Linked DNA regions of Homo sapiens: regions 1, 2, 3, 4, 5 and 7 are each linked to region 6. The links are contacts of gene promoters, found by promoter capture Hi-C in human tissues and cell types (Jung and others, 2019). All regions are on one chromosome and are shown on one strand. Each heading gives the region's core, a stretch centred on a gene start or on the middle of the fragment in contact. The rest is flanking DNA. Distances are from core to core; before and after follow the strand shown.

Region 1 (2,700 bases), core at 160-2,659, 1.8 Mb after region 6:
GCCTGAGGGTGCAGGGAGAAGCCTGAGGGAGAGAGGGAGGTGTGGGAGAGAAGCCTGAAGTCCTCAGAGAGACAAAAAGCACTCCCTCAGGTCTCTCTGATAACCTTTTAAGTCCTGAAAAAGTAGGTAAGAAGTTTGGCTACCATGAATAGGACCACTCAGTTTCTAAACATCACAGCACCCAAGGACACCATTCCCAGAGAAGACTGCTAGAGGACAGGATGAGGTGGGCACAAGGAAGATGAGATTAGGGGTGAAAGCCTGATGATCTGCCAAAGCATGGGACAGGAAGGCAGAAACGTAAGTGGAATGTAGCATGACCCTAGCAGCCGGAAGAAACAGTTGAATCTCTCAAGGAACTTCTCAAGTGTAGTGATGGTGGCTGCTCAGGCTTGAGTCCCTCACCAGCCCAGCCAGACCATAGTTTACAGAGAGCTAAACCAGCAACCTCAACAGAACATGTTGTCAAATGATCCTGTCTAAAAACTGTTGATTAATGAGCTGATGTCAGCCAGATGGAAGGTTATGAAAGCATGGTGTCACCAGGTTGCCCTAGGACCTATTTGTAATATTCCCTTACAGAAAGCTTACACCTGGAAATGTAAGAAATGTGGGAAGGCAATTTATTCAGGGTAAAGGCCTTGGAAGACTAAAGAATTAAAGAATTCATACTGCTGAAAACTCTATTTATCCTTTTAATGTTTTTTTTTTTTTACTTTAAATTTTAGGGTACAATGTGCAGGTTAGTTACATATGTATACATGTGCCATGTTGGTGTGCTGAGCCCATCAACTCGTCATTTAACATTAAGTATATCTCCTAATGCTATCCCTCCCCACTCCCCCCTCACCACAACAGGCCCCAATGTGTGATGTTCCCCTTCCTGTGTCCATGTGTTCTCATTGTTCAGTTCCCACCTATGAGTGAGAACATACGGTGTTTGGTTTTTTGTCCTTGCAATAGTTTGCTGAGAATGATGGTTTCCAGCTTCATCCATGTCTCTACAAAAGACATGAACTCATCATTTTTTATGGCTGCATAGTATTCCATGGTATATATGTGCCACATTTTCTTAATCCAGTCTATCATTGTTGGACATTTGGGTTGGTTCCAAGTCTTTGCTATTGTGAATAGTGCCACAATAAACATACGTGTATATGTGTCTTTATAGCAGCATGTTTTATAATCCTTTGGGTATATATCCAGTAATGGGATTGCTGGGTGAAATGGTCAAATGGTATTTATATCTCAAGATTCCTGAGGAATCACCACACCGACTTCCACAATGGTTGAACTAGTTTACAGTCCCACCAACAGTGTAAAAGTGTTCCTATCTCTCCACATCCTCTCCAGCACCTGTTGTTTCCTGACTTTTTAATGATCGCCATTCTAACTGGTGTGAGATGGTATCTCATTGTGGTTTTGATTTGCATTTCTCTGATGGCCAGTGATGATGAGCATTTTTTCATGTGTCTTTTGGCTACATAAATGTCTTCTTTTGAGAAGTGTCTGTTCATATCCTTCGCCCACTTTTTGATGGGGCTGTTTTTTTCTTGTAGATTTGTTTGAGTTCATTGTAGATTCTGGATATTAGCCCTTTGTCAGATGAGCAGATTGCAAACATTCTCTCCCATTCTGTAGGTTGCCTGTTCACTCTGATGGTAGTTTCTTAAATCTGTAGTGATGCCCCTACTATCATTCCTGATTTGATAATTTGTGTCTTTTTATTTCCTGATAATTCTACCTAGAGGTTTATCAATTTTATTGATCTTTTTTAAGAACCAGCTTTTGTTTCTATTGATTTTCTCTATTATTTATCTGCTCTTATATCATTGTTTCTGCTCTTTATTACTTCTTTCTTTCTGCTTATTTTGGATTTAGTTTGCTCATTTTTTTCTGTTTTCTTAAGGTAGAAGCTTAGATCATTGCCTTGAGATGTTTCTTCTTTTCTAATGAAATAATTTATTGCCTTAATTCTCTCTAAGCGCTACCCATGCATTTTGATATGCTGTGTTTTTGTTTTCATCCAGTTCAAAGCACTTTCTAATTTATTCAGTCATTTCTTCTTTTATTCATGGGTTATTCAGAAGTGTATCACTTAGTATTCCAATATTTGGAGATTCTCTAGGTATCTTTCTATTGTTAACTTATAATTTAATTCTACTGTAGGACATACTTTGCCTACCCTTCCATACTTTGAATACTTTTCAATTTATTGAAACTTGTTTTGTGGCCTACAATATGTTCTACTTGGTAAATTTTCCATGTGCACTTGAAAAGAATATACAGTATTCTGCTGTTCCTAGGTAAAGTGTTCTATATCAATTGTCATGTCCTCTATATCCCTACTGATTCTGTTTACTTGTTCTACCAGCTGAAATCCTGAACTACAAATGTGGAGTTAGTTCTTCTTTCAATTGCATCAGTTTTTGCTTCATGTACTTTGAAGCTCTGGCATAAACATTTAAGATTGTTAGGTATTCTTGATGTCTTGACCCCTTTATCATTATGAATTGTCTCTCTTTACCTCTGTAAATTCTTTGCTCTGAAATCTTCTTGTCTATTATTAACATAGCTACTCCAGCTTTCTTCAGATTAATGTCTGCATGGCATATCTATTTCTATCCTTTTATACTTTTAATTTATCTGAGTCTTAGTATTTAAGGTGGGCTCATGTAGACAGCTCATAGTTGCATCTTC
Region 2 (2,700 bases), core at 133-2,632, 1.4 Mb after region 6:
TGGACACTTGATTGGTTTGACTGTGAGCCTATCTTTTTGGTTTTGAGCCCCTGGATTAGGGGGTCTGGATAGGTGGACATGAGGCCTGGAGACATTTTCTCAGTGTCTAGACCAGCTGCTGCAAGTCAGAGTCAAGTCCAATGTGGCCCCTTCTTCCCTGCCCTAGCTTTGCCTCCTGGCTATTCTGGGAGGGATCAGATCCTCGAGGCACAGTCTTCCCAGATCTATCTTCTGTCCTGAGCTCTACACCTGGTATGTAAATCCAGGTCTCAGAAAGGCTCTGCCCTTCATAGCCATCTTGGAAACCACATGGCTACTTGAGACCGAAGATGACCAGAAAAGACATTAGGGAATGTAGCTGTGTGTATTAGATTGTTCTCACATTGCTGGTAAAGACATACCTGAGACTGGGTAATTTATAAAGGAAAGAGGTTTAATGGACTCACAGTTCCACATGGTTGGGGAGGCCTCACAATCATGGCTGAAGACAAACAAGGTGCAAAGTCACGTTTTACATGGCAACAGGCAAGAAAGTGTGTTCAGGAGAACTTTCCTTTATAAAACCATCAGATCTCATGACACTTATTCACTATCATAATAATGGCACTGGAAAAACCTACCCCCATGATTCAATTACCTTCCACTGGGTCCCTCTCATGACACACGGGAATTATGGGAGCTACAATTCAAGGTGAGATTTGGGTGGGGACACAGTCAAACCATATCACTGTGTCACAGTTTCAAAATTATTTTCAGTAATTTAAAATCTTAAAGTCACGGTATGTTAAATAATAGATAATCATAAAAGTTCAGAGTCATTTGTAAGTTAAAATACTGAAACATTAATTATTAAACATAAGTTTATGTTTATATATTTTGACATCTTATTTTTATATGATATAGAAAAGCTAAATATATTTAGATCTGTTAATAAATAATAATGTAAGGAAACATCTTTCTAAATAATTATAAAATAGTTTTCATCTACAAATACTGATACAAAACAGTTCAAAATTTCTTTCTAGTGTTTTCACTATAAATTAAGGTTACTAAGAGTTAAAATTATTATTTTTATATATAATTAAAACTACTAAATATGAATAAACAATTGCATATACAGAGTTATAAACAAAAGGAAAATATGTTTTTGATGAGCAGTTATAAAGGCATACAAATGTGTGTTTGTTAAAAAACGTATCTGATAACTTTAGGATCATATCATCTGGACTGCATAAAAATTCCCAGAATTCCAGTGAAGACAGTGAATGGTTTATAAAACTGTTAACCCAAGCAGGACAAAAAATAATTGAATACCAAGGAAATACTTTGCCGGATTTTCATGCTAAATCAGCCAGTACTGAAATTGTTAAGATATGCAATTTGAATGAACTCCATGGTCCAAGTCAAATTACCTATGATAACCCATCAGTTATCAGTGTTATACACATGAATTGCAGAAACAAACCTGGTATTTAAGAGAAAATAAATCCAATATTAAGTACAGGCTCATGGAGAACCCAAAAGGCCACCTGATCCTTCCTGAGTCCTTAAAGCTTTCATCACTAAAAGCTCTGCAGTCCATGACTTATCACGAAAGAGATAAAATAATCCAAATCAAATAAATATATATGTTTGTACACAAACACACACTTGTGTATATGTGTCTGTGTGTGGTGACTGTTCAAAATTGCTAAAATAGTTCATGACCAATGTTTGGTTTCTCAAACTCATAGTCCTGGAATAATATTAATAATAAAAACTTCAGCTACATTTCTGCTACCAGATGGGCCAGTGGGCCATTTAAAGATCTATAGAGGAATTTCATTCAGTTGCCATTTTTAATGCATGTTTTCTGGTAGTATAATAGCTTTCCCATTAGATGACTTACTGGCTGAACAGAGAAGTGTCTGTGTAGTTGCTGATACTTCTAGTTGCATATGGAAAAATATATTGGGTATTACAGAGATTCAGTTGTAAGGAATTAATGTATAGGCAGCTTGTTTAAAAGGGGTAAACTCTATCTGGCTCATCATTTGATCTATTTGATTATAGTTGGTTTGGTTCACGGGTACCCTAACTAAATAGCATATTCCAAACTTTTGGTATTATCCTAATGATAGCTATAATAGTAGTCTCCCTCTTGCATTATCTTCTCTCAAAATTTTTAAATGTTTGCATACAGCCATGTCTAGAATGTCAAATGATCTCTCTTCAACTGGAGCAACAAAAACTCAAAGAAATGTGTGAACACAAGGACACTATAAATTAAAAATAACAAACTGAAACCAGAAACCCAAAATGATGGTAACTGAAGGTCATACTAAGGCCTTAAGCTTTTGGTCACAACTTTACCTAAGTGATAATCTGCCAAAAAGTGGGGGGGAGGGGACGGGGGTGGATTTTTTAAATAAAATTATGGAAGATTATTGTTTTTGATGGAAGTCATGCACTAGGCTCCAACAGAACAAACCAGATGAAACCAAAATGGAGTCACTCACGCCAAATGTAACATAATCAAACTAAAACTTTAAGGAAACAGATAGGTCAGAAATAGAAACTAAAATAGACCAAGTTTTGGATTTCTCCTGTAAACGGTATATTCTAATACAAGGAGGTCTGCTCTAACCCTCACAAAAAAAAAAAAAAAATGCCTGAAATTCTTGTCCCCACCTTATAAAACCCACTATTCTGCTATTTACC
Region 3 (2,700 bases), core at 78-2,577, 1.3 Mb after region 6:
TTCACTGCTTTTGACCCTGAACTTTTGTAAAAACTACACCCCAGTAACTAAAATTGCCCTCCTTGTGTACAGCAGTATGATAAACCACATATAGAAGCCTTTTCTTTCTCAGACTTGAATGTCTTGGCTTGGTAACAGAAAGGAGCAATTAGCAGCTGTACAGACATAGTCAAATTGTACAACTATCTGAATCTTAGTTCTCCCAGTTAATAAGCTTTTGGGATTATTGTGGCAGCAAAATGAGATAATGTTTATAAAGTATATGACCCATAGTAGGCTTACAAAAAGTAGTAGCTATTATTATTGCTATCATTGCTTACTTTTGAAACGCAAGGTGCTAAATGGTTATAAACCACTGTTTTCAAGCCTAGCAGCATAGATTAGAAGCCTTTATTTCCCTTTACTAGCTACATATCCTTGAGTATTTGCTAAACCTCTCTAATCTTTGATTTCTTCATCCATAAAAGAAGGATAATAAATATTACCTACTTCACAAGGTTGTTTTAAACATTAAATGAAATGAAATACATGAAGTGTTCACAACAGTGTTTGAAAAATTGTGAGCACGAAGTCAATGTTTGCTATTATCGGCAGTAGTTGTAGCGTGGAAAGAGTGGATTTTCAAAAATGAGTTTATTTTGATTGAGAACTCAAATGTTTTATACATGCAGCCACTCAACTGGGCAATTTCGGTGATAGCAGGTACTGGCTGAACATGTCAGTTCACTCAACAGGAGAGATTCTGCTTTTGAGTTTCTTGCCTCACATTAAAAAAGGTGTTTCCATTCCAACTCTGACCCATCTTCCTGGTTAAGACAGACAAACAGGCAGACTGATACCTCTCTCATTAACATGTTTCTATATTCTTTGAGTATAGCCAAGTGGAGATTATATGAATCCTCATAGAGTTTCTCTTTCCTCCACATTGTGGTCCCCAGTTGCACAATGAGTGTTAAGTGGCTGAATGAACAACTCTACAACCATTGAAAGAAAGTTGCTGAGGGGGATGCAGTAATGGATTCTATAGTTGTACCCTGGACTCACACAGCATCGGGTTCAAACCTGGCTATCCCACTTACAACTCATGGCCTTACACAAGTTACTTAAATATCCAAACATCGGTTTTCTTTCAAGTAGAATGTTAGTATAGGTTATAGTCTCTTATCCAAAATCCTTAAGGTGAAATGGGTTCTGAGATTGAGGCTTTTTCAGATTTTAGAATGTTAATGAGAAATATTCTGTATATTATGTGACATCCCAGCCAGAGTCTCCAGCAGTTCCCTTTAATAAAGCATGCTAATATTTCAGCAGATAATGTAGGATTATTCACATTATTACATAAATAAACAACAATTTGCCACCAGTTGAGTTCAGGTGAGGTCATATTCTGCTACCAAATGAATTAGAAAATCAGCTTCCAAGTTGTAGTGGTTTTTCAATTTCAGTATTGCAGGAAAAGTACTGTGAATTTGAAATATTTGTTCCTGCCTCTACGGTGTTTTGGAACCCATTAAACAAAATTGTCACAATAAAGTGACTCTAAGTGATATTGGAGTATGAAGCCATACTCTCTAAAGAAAGAGTATTTATAACCCCAGGGACACTCAAAGACATAGAGTGACGTTTTCATACAGCAAATTCTCATGCAATTGTCTTTACATGCTCTCTTTTAATTGTATGTTAGTACTTTGTCAACTAATTCTTCTTAACTCAGCTTAAGTTCCCTGGTTCTTCATTATAATCACTCCCTTGCATTCCCCCATTTCCTTTGCCCCCTCCTGCTCAATGTTCTCCCTTGTAAAAAGACTAATCCTGATTAAATCCTACTCTTGCACCCACTTTGTGATTTCATTCCCACAGCTGAACATTGCTGGAGTAAACAATACAATCACACTGAATGGTCCGATGTTGAATTCATAACTTTGAATTCAGGTACACCCAGAGAGCTTTCTGGCTCTGCCACTCAGATCCCTTTACCTTCTCATTCTTCTATCTTCTAAAGGACTCTTTTTTTCATCTCCCTTGAAACCTATACTTGTACCCCCATCCTTTTTCTCAGATGATGGTCCTACTTTCTATTTCAATGGGAAAACAGAAGCACTCAGAGAGAAGCTTTCGTAAGCTCCCAGCACCACATCTACCCAATTATCTGCATCTATGCCTAAATTCTCTGCTGTCCTCCAGCTATAAAGGAAGTTGGCTGCCCTGGGCACAATCCTTAGATCATTTCTTCTCTACATCTAGGTTCTTTTCCTGGGTGAATGCAAATGGCTCCTCAACATCTCCACTTGGACATCTACTAGGCACTATAAACTCAAGCCATCCAAACTATACCCCGCATTTCCCCTCAACAAATCTGTTATCCCTCATTGCTGGAAATAGCATCTCCATTTTTGCAGTGTCTCAAATTTGAAAACTTCTATAATACTTAATTTCTGTTTCTCCCCTACCATACATCTCATTCCATCATCAGATCCTGTCAGTTCAAATTTCAGCATGTATTCAGACAACAAGCACTTCTTATCAGCTCCAAGGTCCCATTCTAATCCAAACCACCACCATCTCAAATTAACGCAATAGCCACCTAACTGCTTTACATGATTCCTTGCTTGCCCTGTATTGTCTGCTTCTTCTTGACAATCACCAAAGTGATGCTTTCAAAACCTGCCAAACAACAGTCTCTTCTGATCAAAACCCTCA
Region 4 (2,700 bases), core at 180-2,679, 1.4 Mb after region 6:
TTACTGTCTTATTTTACTTATACAATGTCCTTAAGGTTCATCTATGTTGTAGCATGTAACAGGATTTTCTCCTTTTTAAGGCAGAATAATATTCCATTTTATGTATAGACCACATTTTCTTTATCTGTTCACCTGTCAATGAACATTTGTGTTGCTTTCACTTGTTAGCTATTGTTAATCTGCAATAAAAATGGGTGTGCAAATATTTCCTTGAAAACCTGTTTTCATTTCTTTTGGAAAATATGATAATTCGATTTTTAATTTTTTGAGCAGCTTTTATGCTGTTTTTATAGGGACTGCACAATTTTGCCTTCCCACCAACAGTGTACAAGTTCCAATTTGCCACATCCTAGCCAACACTTATTTTGTTTTTTTTTTAATTAGCCATCCTGATGAGTGCGAAGTGACATCTCAATGTGCATTTTCCTAGTGTTTTTTGATGTTGAGTATCTTTTCATATGTTTGCAAGCAGTTTGTACATTTTATTGGATAAAATGTCTATTCAAGTCCTTTGCCCATTTTTTCAACTGGATGTTAGATTTTTTTGTTGAGTTGTAGTTCTTTATATATTCTAGATACTAACCCAAGCCCATATCACATGTGTGTTTTCTAAATATTTTCTCCCATCCTGTAGGTTGCCATCTTACTCTGTTGACTGTTTCTTTTAATCTACAGAAGTTTTTTAAGTTGCGTGTGGTCCCATCTCTCTATTTTTGCTTTTGTTGTCTGTGCTTTTGGTTTCATGTCCAAGAAATCATTGTCAAATCTCATGTCATGAAGTTTTTCCACTATGTTTTCTTCCAGGAGTTGCATAGTTTCAGGTCTTGTGTTTAGATCTTTAATCCATTTTAATTGTTGTATATGGTATAAAATAATGGTTCAGCTTTATTCTTTTACACATGTATTATCCAGGTTTTCCAGCACTTTTATTGAAGAGACTAACCTCTCCCTATTGGCACCCTTGCCAAAGATCTTTTGACACTCTATGTAAGAGTTTTATTTTAAAACCACATTCAAATTCTATAAAAAGGCAATAAAATTTCTAGAGATAATTGCGACTAAAAAATGGATTAGAAATCCATTTGCATTTATCTTTTGACTTCTACTTTGAGTGGGAAATGTTTGTCAACAACACTGGAAGTGGTTTTAAACAGAAATCTCCCTGAGTTTCGGGACAAGCTGATTATTCAGCACTATTTGACAGTCACCAACTAATTATTTCCATATTGCCAACTCATGACTAATTTAATACAAATATATAAAGACTAAGAATAGAAAACTATTGAATGTGTTTCCTAATCAATGTATTAATCTATCTGCAAATGAGTTTTGTATCATGAATTCAGTGAAAAACTAGGAAAATTTCTTCCTCTTAAATTAAGCCATGATCACTTTCATTAACACATATTAAAATGTTGTTTACTCTTTAATTTTTATACCATGATAATTTTTCTAGCTATTTTAAAATATTGGTCGTTTATGCCCTAAATATCAATTAAATGATTGAAGATCACATTTTGAAAAGCTCTGTTTTGATTTGTAACTATACAACTGCTAAAACAGTGCTATCCAATATAAGTGTAATGCAAGCCTCATGTATAATTTTAACTTTTCCAGTAGCCACATTTTAAAAAGCAGCAGGTGAAATTAATTTTAATAACATTTTATTTAGCCCAATATATCCCATATATTATCATTTCAATATGGAATAAATATTTAAAATAGTAACACATTTTGCATTCTTTTTTTCATTCTAAGTTTTCAAAATCTGGGCTATATTTTACACTTACAGCTCATCCCAGTTTGGAGTAGCCATATGTGACCAGTGGCTATTGTATTGAACCACATGGTCCTGAAAGCTCAAGCTTAGAAATCACATTTTCTGATCAGAACTTTCTGTCCATTCATTCCTTCCAATATTTTTCTCTCATTAACTCTAAATTTAAACTTCATGGAGTCCTTCCTTTATCCTGTGATACTATCCTTCCCAGGATCCATCGATTCCCTCTTGCCTGTGTTATGAAAGCTCTCGGTTTGCTTGCTCTCTAACCAGTAGGCCTCGCTTGCCAGACCCTTCTACAATGTGGGATCAGTTTAAGGACTCACTTTTCTATTTCTTCTCCAGAACCATGAGCACTACTGAAAAAAAAATAGTCTTGCTGATTAGTACCATCTCACATTGCTTCCATTCACGCCCAGGTGAGTCTTCAATGCTCCACTATGTATTCACTTCATTGTATTCATTCCTAGGCACATTCACTTTCCATTCTCTCAGCAGACAGTCCAAACTTATAGCATGCTCCTAATGTCTTCCTTCCCTCTCAACCCTGTGGATAGCATAGATCCGTACTTCATAAAAAAATAGAGTAGAACATGCACGACAGGCATCCTCCTCTTCAAGGCAAATCCCTTCCACCTGAGCTCTTCATCCCATTCCCCACTGAGATCCTCAATGACTGAGTAGAGAACAAGAAGACAGATGCCATTCATGTTAAATATTGATGTAATTACTCAGTGTCTTACGGAAACTTTAAGTTATAGTTCCTATTCTGGTCAAGATATGTGTTAAGCAAAGCTTTCCAGTCCTCAGTTTCTGCATCTTTAAAGTCAGATTGGATGAATTCTGTTGTCTCTTTTAGCTCCAGAGTTTTAAACTCTACAGTCTCAGCATAATATCAAGCAAGCTTTCAAGTGTTGAAC
Region 5 (2,700 bases), core at 97-2,596, 1.2 Mb after region 6:
GACAGTGAAACATCCATATGGGGAGATGGAGAAAGAAACCTGTATCAAAGGGAACACAGTCCTGTCTTTGAAAGCCTTTAAATCCAAATGTAGCGATGGCCTTTGTAAAAGTAAAATGACTTTTCTCTGTAATTCTTTAAAAATATATTTCTATTTGTAAGCTTATGCCAACACAATGATTACTTAAGATGACAAAGAGACCACCCACTACATTACGATCTGTCTTGGCAAGCTGGCAGTGTATTCATCTCATGTTAATTTTGTGGTTTGGTTTGTTCTTACAGGTCTTACAGGTCTTACAGTTCTTATGGGTATGCTTATCACGCCCTGGAGCCCCATCCGGAAAAGATCCTTTCAGATGCTGTCAGTTTATTATGAGGATAATTCACATAGAAGTGACCCGGGCCTCTAGTGCCAGGCCCTGCCTTGTTCCCTTGACCCATCTTATCTGAAGCCACTTGACATTACTACAAGCTAGCATCACAATAAGAAAAATTTAAAGAAGAAACAGCTCAACTACTCCAGGGCTCCGTAAACCATCAGTCTTGCTGCTGATTTACCTCTATTTTTTTTACCCCATTTGTAGTCACTGTTTCCTTGTCTTCTTTTCTTTCATATAACTTCCGATTATGCTAACTTGTCCAAGGTCTTCATTCTTTTAAAAGTAGGTCCCCAACTCCCATATTTATTCTGATTCTTGCACCCAGTGGTGAGGTCTCCACCACTATGTACTAAGCTCCTTTACATCACCTTCTTAGTACAAGGCCTTGGTACTCCTGGATAAACTGCAAGCATGTTTTATAATGCCATCTCTATTGAACTTTTCTTGTTAATTTTTTCATGGACACTTGTATTAGTCAGTTTTTCCAGTTATAATTATGCATAATCAACAAGCCCAAACTTTCAGGCTTACATTGTTCAGGCAAACATTGACTTCTCATTCGTGGGTCTGGGGATTGGCTGCAGTGGGTCTGTTCCAGGCTGTGGGTTGGGTACAGGTTTACTCTTTGTGTTTCCTTATTCTAGGATCTAGGTGAAAAGAGAAGCTTCCATCTGTGATGTGATAATGTCATGGCAGAGTGCAAGAAAGATGAGAAGAAGCACATAATGCCTTTTAATACCATGCTTACAAAGCATGATCTCAATTCTGCACCTTCCATTTGTCAAAGCAAGTCATGTGACCAAGCCAAAAGCCAGTGGGATGAGACACTTTACCATGTCCATGGGGAGTCCTAACAAGGGCAGAGAAGGAAGGATAATTGTGGACAATCTATCACAATATATATAAGCTACTGCATTATGTAAAGGAGGAGGATGGTTTGTTGATATAACATTAGAAGAAGTTGAGATGGTTAATGTTTGTTTTGCACATGGTCAAATAATCTGCTCTTTCAAATATTTTCCAAATAAGCTTACTTGGAAAACATATTACTCCATTTTAGGCCTTGTATCTTTCCACAGAAATATGTTGAATATGAATTCAAGTCTGAAATCATAGGTAGTACTAATGAGACAGAAATGCAACTGATTATTTTTTACTTTTTGTTTGTTTAGTGTTGCTATTACCTGTGTTACCTGCTGTTCAACCACATGCATTAATGTTTCTCAGTTTGATATTCATTTATTCAGTAGAAAACAGTAGAATGTGAAAAGGTGCCTGTTTCTATTTCTGGGACATTTTACTATTTTATTTTTCATTAATAACGTGATACTTTTTCTCTCAATCATTTGTTTTCTTTGTTAAAAACCAAGTTTAATTGTAGGAAATCAACCTATGACTTTTGCACCAAGAGGAAGCACAAAGAAATAATCTCTGCATTTTTTAGATTAATTTTTCTTTTTGTGTGCTAGGAGAAGTAAGGGGAAGTTTGTTGTTTAATGAACAAGTTCAAACAAATTCATAGACGTAAAACCCAAATGAACCTTAAGAGCTCGCCAGCTTGATATCATGTTTCCCTTCCCACAACTAAATAGTATTGTCTCTTTTTACCTGAAACAAAATGCACATCCTTCATTTGTTTGTGGTGACATTCTCCAACCTGCCAATATTTAATTCTTATCTGATTAAATAAAACAGAGAAGCATAAAAAGAAATGCTTATTAAAAAAAAGAAAGAAAGAAAGAAAATGTCTCCATGGCTGGCAAGCTTTCTTGTTTTTCTGTGTGTCCTGGCTAATGGACAAGGATATGTTTTAAAACTATATGATAGTCTTAAGCACATTTGTAATTTTTAACTTACCATCAGAGTACTTTAGCTAGAAATAGTTGTTCCAGAAAAATATTTGAAGAATGAGGAAAATGCACTTATTTATCCAATGACACATAAACTTAGACTCTCAGAATAAACCCTAAATCCTTTGAAACTGAATTAAAACCAAGAAAAACTTTTTATACACAGTGAAAATTAAACCAGAAATTGGCTTTGTGAAATGGTTACCCTAAAATCTCCTACACTAAATGGTGTAACTTAGTATAAGTTTCTTCTGATAGTCAAGAGCTGATTTTTACATGTTGAAGGACAAAAGATATCTTTTATTCAAAATTAATTCAGTTGCAGAAAATCTTGATGCCATATTTAAGAATACACACACACACACACACACACACGCACACATTGGAAAGCTATCTAAGTCCTCTAAATTTTGCCCAACTTGCAGGAAATAAATTTCTTAAATGATAATAATTTTGATAAAATATTAT
Region 6 (2,700 bases), core at 124-2,623:
TGGTGGGTGCCCAGTGTTTGCGAAGCAGCCACCCATGGCCGACCTCTCGGGTCCACCCAATCGTGGCTATCTGCCTGGGTCCGGGCAGCGCCGGGCGGCCCCTCGCGGGTGGTCGAGGCGCCACGCACAAGAACAATCCCGACCGAAAGGCACGAACCGCCTCTTTTTGACCATCTGGAAAGGTTCTTAAAGGACCCACCGAGTGTTCCCACCCCACAGATACCATTTAAAAATCAAATGGATGTGTAATTCCACAGACAGCTACGAATAAAGATTTAGGACAGTGGGAAAGCCTCATCAAAAGGTACCGAAGCCCTCTGTCTGGCCCCAGCCAGCCACCTTTCCAAGAACCCAGGGCACGCCGCCGCGGCATACAATAAGACAGCCTTTCCCTCCTCGCCTTTCTCCACCACCATCCCCATTGCGCCCCCCTTTCCCGACTCCCCCCCCCGCCACACACAATCACACCACCAGTTCAGAAATCTCGAAGACAATCCAGCTTCGACAACAAACCCGAGAGACACCCAAACACCATTGTGCCCCCAAACACAAATGAAACCTGGCTGGGGGCGGGGGAAGGAGGGCACCTAGCTAGTCACGTTCTGCCAATCTCCAAACCACGCCATTTTAGACGATTTATCACTCCTTTCCTCCCGTCTACTCAAGAATTCTCCAGGATTCTAAGGAACCACTCCTTTGGTGTGGGGGGACCCCGGCTATGAAAAATCCACAATTTAGGCTATCCATTTCCATTCAACTTTCAGACTAGAATCCAGCCACACTCCTCTCCACGAATGAGCCTTGGGAGCCACCAGGAGGGAAGGAGAGAAAGACACGAAATAAATGACCACAACCACAGGTAGAATTTACCTGTCCGTTCGCTTTGGAAGGCGACGAGGCCACAGCCGCCTCCCCAGGCCTCTCCGCGGCGGCTTCTCCCTTCGCTGCGGTCTTGGAGAACTGGGCACCCATGCTGGCTTCTTCAACAAAGAAACTCAACAGATCCAAGAGGGGAAACAAAGAGCCTCGGGTTGGTGTAACGACGGGGCGAGCAGCAGCAGCAGCGGCGGCGGCAACAGCGGCAGCGGCACACACACCGGAGGGAGGGGGGTGGGGGTGGTGGAGAGGACAGAACAGAACCGATTAAATACACTCCGGATAAAAAAATTTTAGTCGAAGAGATCAAAAAGCAGCAGCACAGGAGGGAGGGAAAAAGGGTGGAAAAGTCGAGCACAAAAAAAGGAGCCCAAGTGTAGTTCGAAAAAAAAAGAAGTAATAAAAAAATCCCAGATTTGTAGCCGCACTGTAGACAAGAGGAAAATGGAGAAATCTCCCTGGTTGCTAATAAGATGCGGGGTCCAACGCCCAAGTGCACAGATGAATGGGCTCGCGGGCGCTGACGCGGCCCCCGCGCGCGTCGGCCAATCCGCGCGCCGCACACAAAGCAGGGGGCGGGGTCTGCGCGCCTGGCGAACAATGGAGCCGCGCTTTGCAAACGGTTTGAAAATCAGCCTCAGACCGAGAATTAATGTCCTCCAAATAAATAAATCAATTAAAAAATACATGGCACTCGTCTCTCTCTGCTTGAAAATAATAATGCATTTCTTGATTGGCTTGCTTTGTTTGGAATTAATTAACACGGGAGGGGGGTACTTGTGCATCGGGGCGGAGAAAGCGTTAACTTGACTCGCATTGACTCTCGTCGGTCTATATCCGTGTGTCTCTCTCTCTCCACTCGCTCCCCTCCCCCATCTTTCCGTGTGTTTATGTGTATGTGTGTGTATGCGAGTGTTAAAGACAATGGTTGCGATTTGTGTGTTTGCAGCATGTTTTCTTTCTTTTTTCCATATTGGTTTTACAGATAATGCTCAGGGTTTGTTTTTTGAACTGCTGCAATGGTTAAATCGTCCCAAATTGAAAGGTATTTAAACCACGAAGATCGAATTTCATCAAGCGAGATCGCAAGTTAGAATTAGGTCTGTAGGCCAGATGTGGAAAATGCAAAAGCGGCAAACAGCGAAGCCACACTCCCTTCCCTCTCCCACATTGGCATGAAATAAAATATTTTGAGATTGGCCTTGGGCGCTCAACAAATTCCCCCTTCTCTGGCTATTCCCAATTAGTGATTTTTTTCCCCCACAATTCAAAGTGAGAGCCATTTACAGAAGATCGAAACTCTTCGCGTTTTATCACTGTTTTAAATGACATAATTTTCCTCTATGGTGAAATGAGACACAGCCTCGAGTAGACGAATCCATATTTACAGTTGGGATGTTATTCGCGTCAATATGGATCGTTTTCAGCCTACTGCCAGAATCGAATGGACTCTTTTTGAACGTGTGTGTGAGTGCGCACGCAGGCGAATGTGCTCCTGAAAGGAAGGGAGGCAGCAGCAACGATGACATTCTAAACCGGATTGCAGTTCTAAGGAGAAATGTTCTGTATGTTGAGAGATAGCAAGATCCCTGAGCTCTCCAAGTCTAACTTGGGTTAGAGGAAAACCTTCTATAATGGTACACAGGATACCTCCATCTGTCACTGCACTCCTTGCCACCGAAGTACCAGACGCTTTTTGTGCGTGAGAGACAAGGCACTGACTTAAAGTATGAGGGGTGAGGGGAACCAAGGAAACAGCTTAATAAGCATTTTCTTCCCAAAGTTTTCACTCGTGGCAAAATCAGACCACCTTTTCTCGTTTAC
Region 7 (2,700 bases), core at 38-2,537, 1.3 Mb after region 6:
CTTGTTGGGTACTCATTGGATTTTAATGAGCATCTGGGCAGACCCTGGGAGAGAGCTGTGTTCTCACAGTGCAAGGGCAGGCTCGATGCTTTCAGCTGTTGGCACCACTCACAGTAGATAGTGTTCTCAAGAGAAAGAGTGTTAGTAAACCTTCATTTGTGTGTGTGTGTGGCTGAAGAGAATTGGCTGCAAAAGAGAAATTCAATTCTCTTATTTCTGAAAGCAGTAAAGAAGTTTCCAAATGACTTCCTTTAATGCATTTGGTAAGTTGCCCTCAAAGACTATTGTTTGAGCATCTCAAAATACAGGCTTAGAAAATCCCCCTTAATAACTGTCATTACAAATAACCTGTTTAATATTTGCAAAGGATGAGTTTATTAACAAATTTCACTACATCCAATATTTGGTAATAATATAGTACCCCTGAGAAATCCTGGGGAGAAGAGGATGAAGAATGAGGAGTTTCAATGGGAGTGGATATAAACTATCCAAATGAAAGCTATTTTAAAAAATGTCCTTGACCACTCCACCAGCAACATTAGAGACCTTGATGGGGTTCACTTTGCTTTCCCAGGAAGAAAAGAATCAAATATAGCTAGAGTAACTACTGGTAGTAAGATATTCACAAACATCTAACTCATTCCATAACTCTGTATATTCTCTTCCCTTCACCTAGAATACCTTTCCCTTCTTACTCTAGTCCCTGTTTTTGTTTTTTCCTTAAACTCTTACTCATCCCTCAAAATTCAGCTCAGTTTTTACCTGCTCTATAAAGCTTTACTCAGGCATCCTAGGCAAAACTTGTTTCTCCCATTTTCGTGTTAAGTATTAGGCATTGCCAGACCATTTTTCTTAGCTCAATTGAAGGTCTTACATCTACTCTAACTTCCACTTAAAGATCTATTGGATTATGAAATATTTTAGAACGACTATTTCTTATTGATTTTGTATTCCCACTCCTAGTATAGTGTTTAATATTTATGAATGAATAAATGAATGAATGAAAAACAAAGCAGGACAAAGAAGAGCAAGGCAAATAAAGCTGAAAAGACTGGACAAAAGAAGAAAGAGAAACAAATGGCACAGGCTGAATATAAGACTAAAAACTATTAGATATTAAAGATTGTTAGAGGTTTGTAACCTCAGGAGAACCAGGCTGGGGCAAGAAAAGACAGACAGTAGAAACATGATATTAAAGAAAATCAATCTATATCACAAACAAAAAGAAGAGGGACAGTGGAGTTAGAAAGATCTTTTGAAAGCCTAGAAATAGAAAGCACTGGGTTAGGGCAAGGCAGAGTCTAAAATGTCAGACTTTTAAGAGCTCCTTATAGGACCCAAATTGGAATCCCACAAGACATAGTGGTGTATTCGGATCCTAAAATATTGCTTTTCTCCAGAAATTACTGATGAAGACCCACGCAGAAGAACTTTGGAAGTTTAAAGAAAATTGATACTTACAATAGGAAAGCTGTTAGTTCCAAGACAAGACAATATGGTATTAAACCTTTATTTAGTGCCTGTGTTGCTGTGAATTAAGGATGGAGTGGCCAATGAGAAAGACGCTTAGTTCACAGGCATTGGCCTGCACTAGGAAGTCTGCCCAGCTCTGAAAGGTTCACTTGTACATGCACAAGCCCTGTGCCACATGGGGTCTCCCTTCTCTAAATTCTTGTGGCAAATGGTATCATCTCATTCACGTCTTGATTCTCTACCAGATTGTAGTTTACTCAGAAAAAGGAACTATTACTGTGCTTCTGGAACCAATCTTGGCATGAAATTGATAGCTGTTTTCTATTGATTGGTTGAGTATTATGCTAGTTTTTTACTGGTTGAGTTTAACCATATAAGTAAGTTAGCACTCAAAGTCTAAATTTCAGCCCTTTGAGATCATTTATTTTAACTGCTTAGTCTCTGTCCCTAATTATTCCATACTCCAACTTTATGGTGGTAGTGAGGAGGGTGTTAATTCTAAAATTGTGTACTTGTATTATATCCTCACTTTTTTTCTAAGCTCTCTACCTACTGTTAATTATGTGGTGTCCTTTTTTTCCCCTCTCAGGGACCTCCTTTCCATAGCTTCCATCCTTCTCCAAGCTTGAGTGCCAGCTCTCTAGGCTGCCACACACCAGTTGTGCTGTTAATTATTTACCTTTATTACTCTTTGATATAGAAATTGTTGCCCAAATTGTTTTCATTTTTGTTTTTAGTTGTCACCATTATTTTCTTGAAGAGAATCCTCAGGAGATTTCCAAAGAAAGGACATTTGCCATATTAATTTTCTAAGCTTGGTTATAGCTATATTATCTTATTATGCTTGAATGGTATTCTGGCTATGTTTAGGATTCTAGAGCAGAAACACTTTTTCTTCCGTCATTGTAGGCATTAAAAGATAAGATTTGAAAAGTCAACCAGAATATAGTACAAAAATTTAAAAAATATATAAAGACATAAACACTCAATTATGGATATAGTATCTGAATATTAGGAGTAAAGGCAAGGAGAATGAAGAGAACTGAGAGAAGAAATTATAAAATTATGCAAAGAAGTTGCTCAGAGTGAAAAGAAGCATGTTTTAAAGGTTGAAATGACCTGTGTACCACTGACCATGATAAAAAGAAACAGACACACACCTGGACAAATTAGTGTGAAGTTGTAGAACACCAAGGAGAAAGATAAAATATCTTAGAAATTTTAGTG

What was found. Contacts are between HindIII fragments. The study calls those that stand out against the background at their distance.
Region 1: a fragment that was not itself captured here is called in contact with the fragment with the promoter of MARCKS in region 6 in 1 of the 25 tissues and cell types used here (dorsolateral prefrontal cortex).
Region 2: a contact is called between a fragment that was not itself captured here and the fragment with the promoter of MARCKS in region 6, in 1 of the 25 tissues and cell types used here (dorsolateral prefrontal cortex).
Region 3: a contact is called between a fragment that was not itself captured here and the fragment with the promoter of MARCKS in region 6, in 1 of the 25 tissues and cell types used here (IMR-90 fibroblasts).
Region 4: a contact is called between a fragment that was not itself captured here and the fragment with the promoter of MARCKS in region 6, in 1 of the 25 tissues and cell types used here (dorsolateral prefrontal cortex).
Region 5: a contact is called between a fragment that was not itself captured here and the fragment with the promoter of MARCKS in region 6, in 2 of the 25 tissues and cell types used here (dorsolateral prefrontal cortex and hippocampus).
Region 7: a fragment that was not itself captured here is called in contact with the fragment with the promoter of MARCKS in region 6 in 5 of the 25 tissues and cell types used here (IMR-90 fibroblasts, dorsolateral prefrontal cortex, heart right ventricle and 2 more).

The regions. Positions count from the first base shown.
Region 1 is chr6:112,104,550-112,107,249 of GRCh38, reverse strand. No RefSeq gene overlaps it. Among named protein-coding and RNA genes, the nearest start is that of FAM229B, 18 kb to the right of the region's middle. The HindIII fragment of the contact is 4,320 bases long and covers 1-2,700 here.
Region 2 is chr6:112,461,752-112,464,451 of GRCh38, reverse strand. No RefSeq gene overlaps it. Among named protein-coding and RNA genes, the nearest start is that of RFPL4B, 120 kb to the right of the region's middle. The HindIII fragment of the contact is 5,898 bases long and covers 1-2,700 here.
Region 3 is chr6:112,514,002-112,516,701 of GRCh38, reverse strand. No RefSeq gene overlaps it. Among named protein-coding and RNA genes, the nearest start is that of RFPL4B, 170 kb to the right of the region's middle. The HindIII fragment of the contact is 5,625 bases long and covers 1-2,700 here.
Region 4 is chr6:112,494,847-112,497,546 of GRCh38, reverse strand. No RefSeq gene overlaps it. Among named protein-coding and RNA genes, the nearest start is that of RFPL4B, 150 kb to the right of the region's middle. The HindIII fragment of the contact is 4,169 bases long and covers 1-2,700 here.
Region 5 is chr6:112,679,845-112,682,544 of GRCh38, reverse strand. No RefSeq gene overlaps it. Among named protein-coding and RNA genes, the nearest start is that of RFPL4B, 330 kb to the right of the region's middle. The HindIII fragment of the contact is 4,390 bases long and covers 1-2,700 here.
Region 6 is chr6:113,856,018-113,858,717 of GRCh38, reverse strand. MARCKS (myristoylated alanine rich protein kinase C substrate) reads right to left here and starts at 1,373. Exons shown (of 2, transcript NM_002356.7): 1 at 871-1,373. The coding sequence starts at 972. RefSeq lists enhancers at 1,292-1,341, 1,129-1,672, 1,673-2,218, 2,489-2,538, 2,559-2,618. The HindIII fragment of the contact is 5,128 bases long and covers 1-2,700 here.
Region 7 is chr6:112,559,799-112,562,498 of GRCh38, reverse strand. No RefSeq gene overlaps it. Among named protein-coding and RNA genes, the nearest start is that of RFPL4B, 210 kb to the right of the region's middle. The HindIII fragment of the contact is 3,570 bases long and covers 1-2,700 here.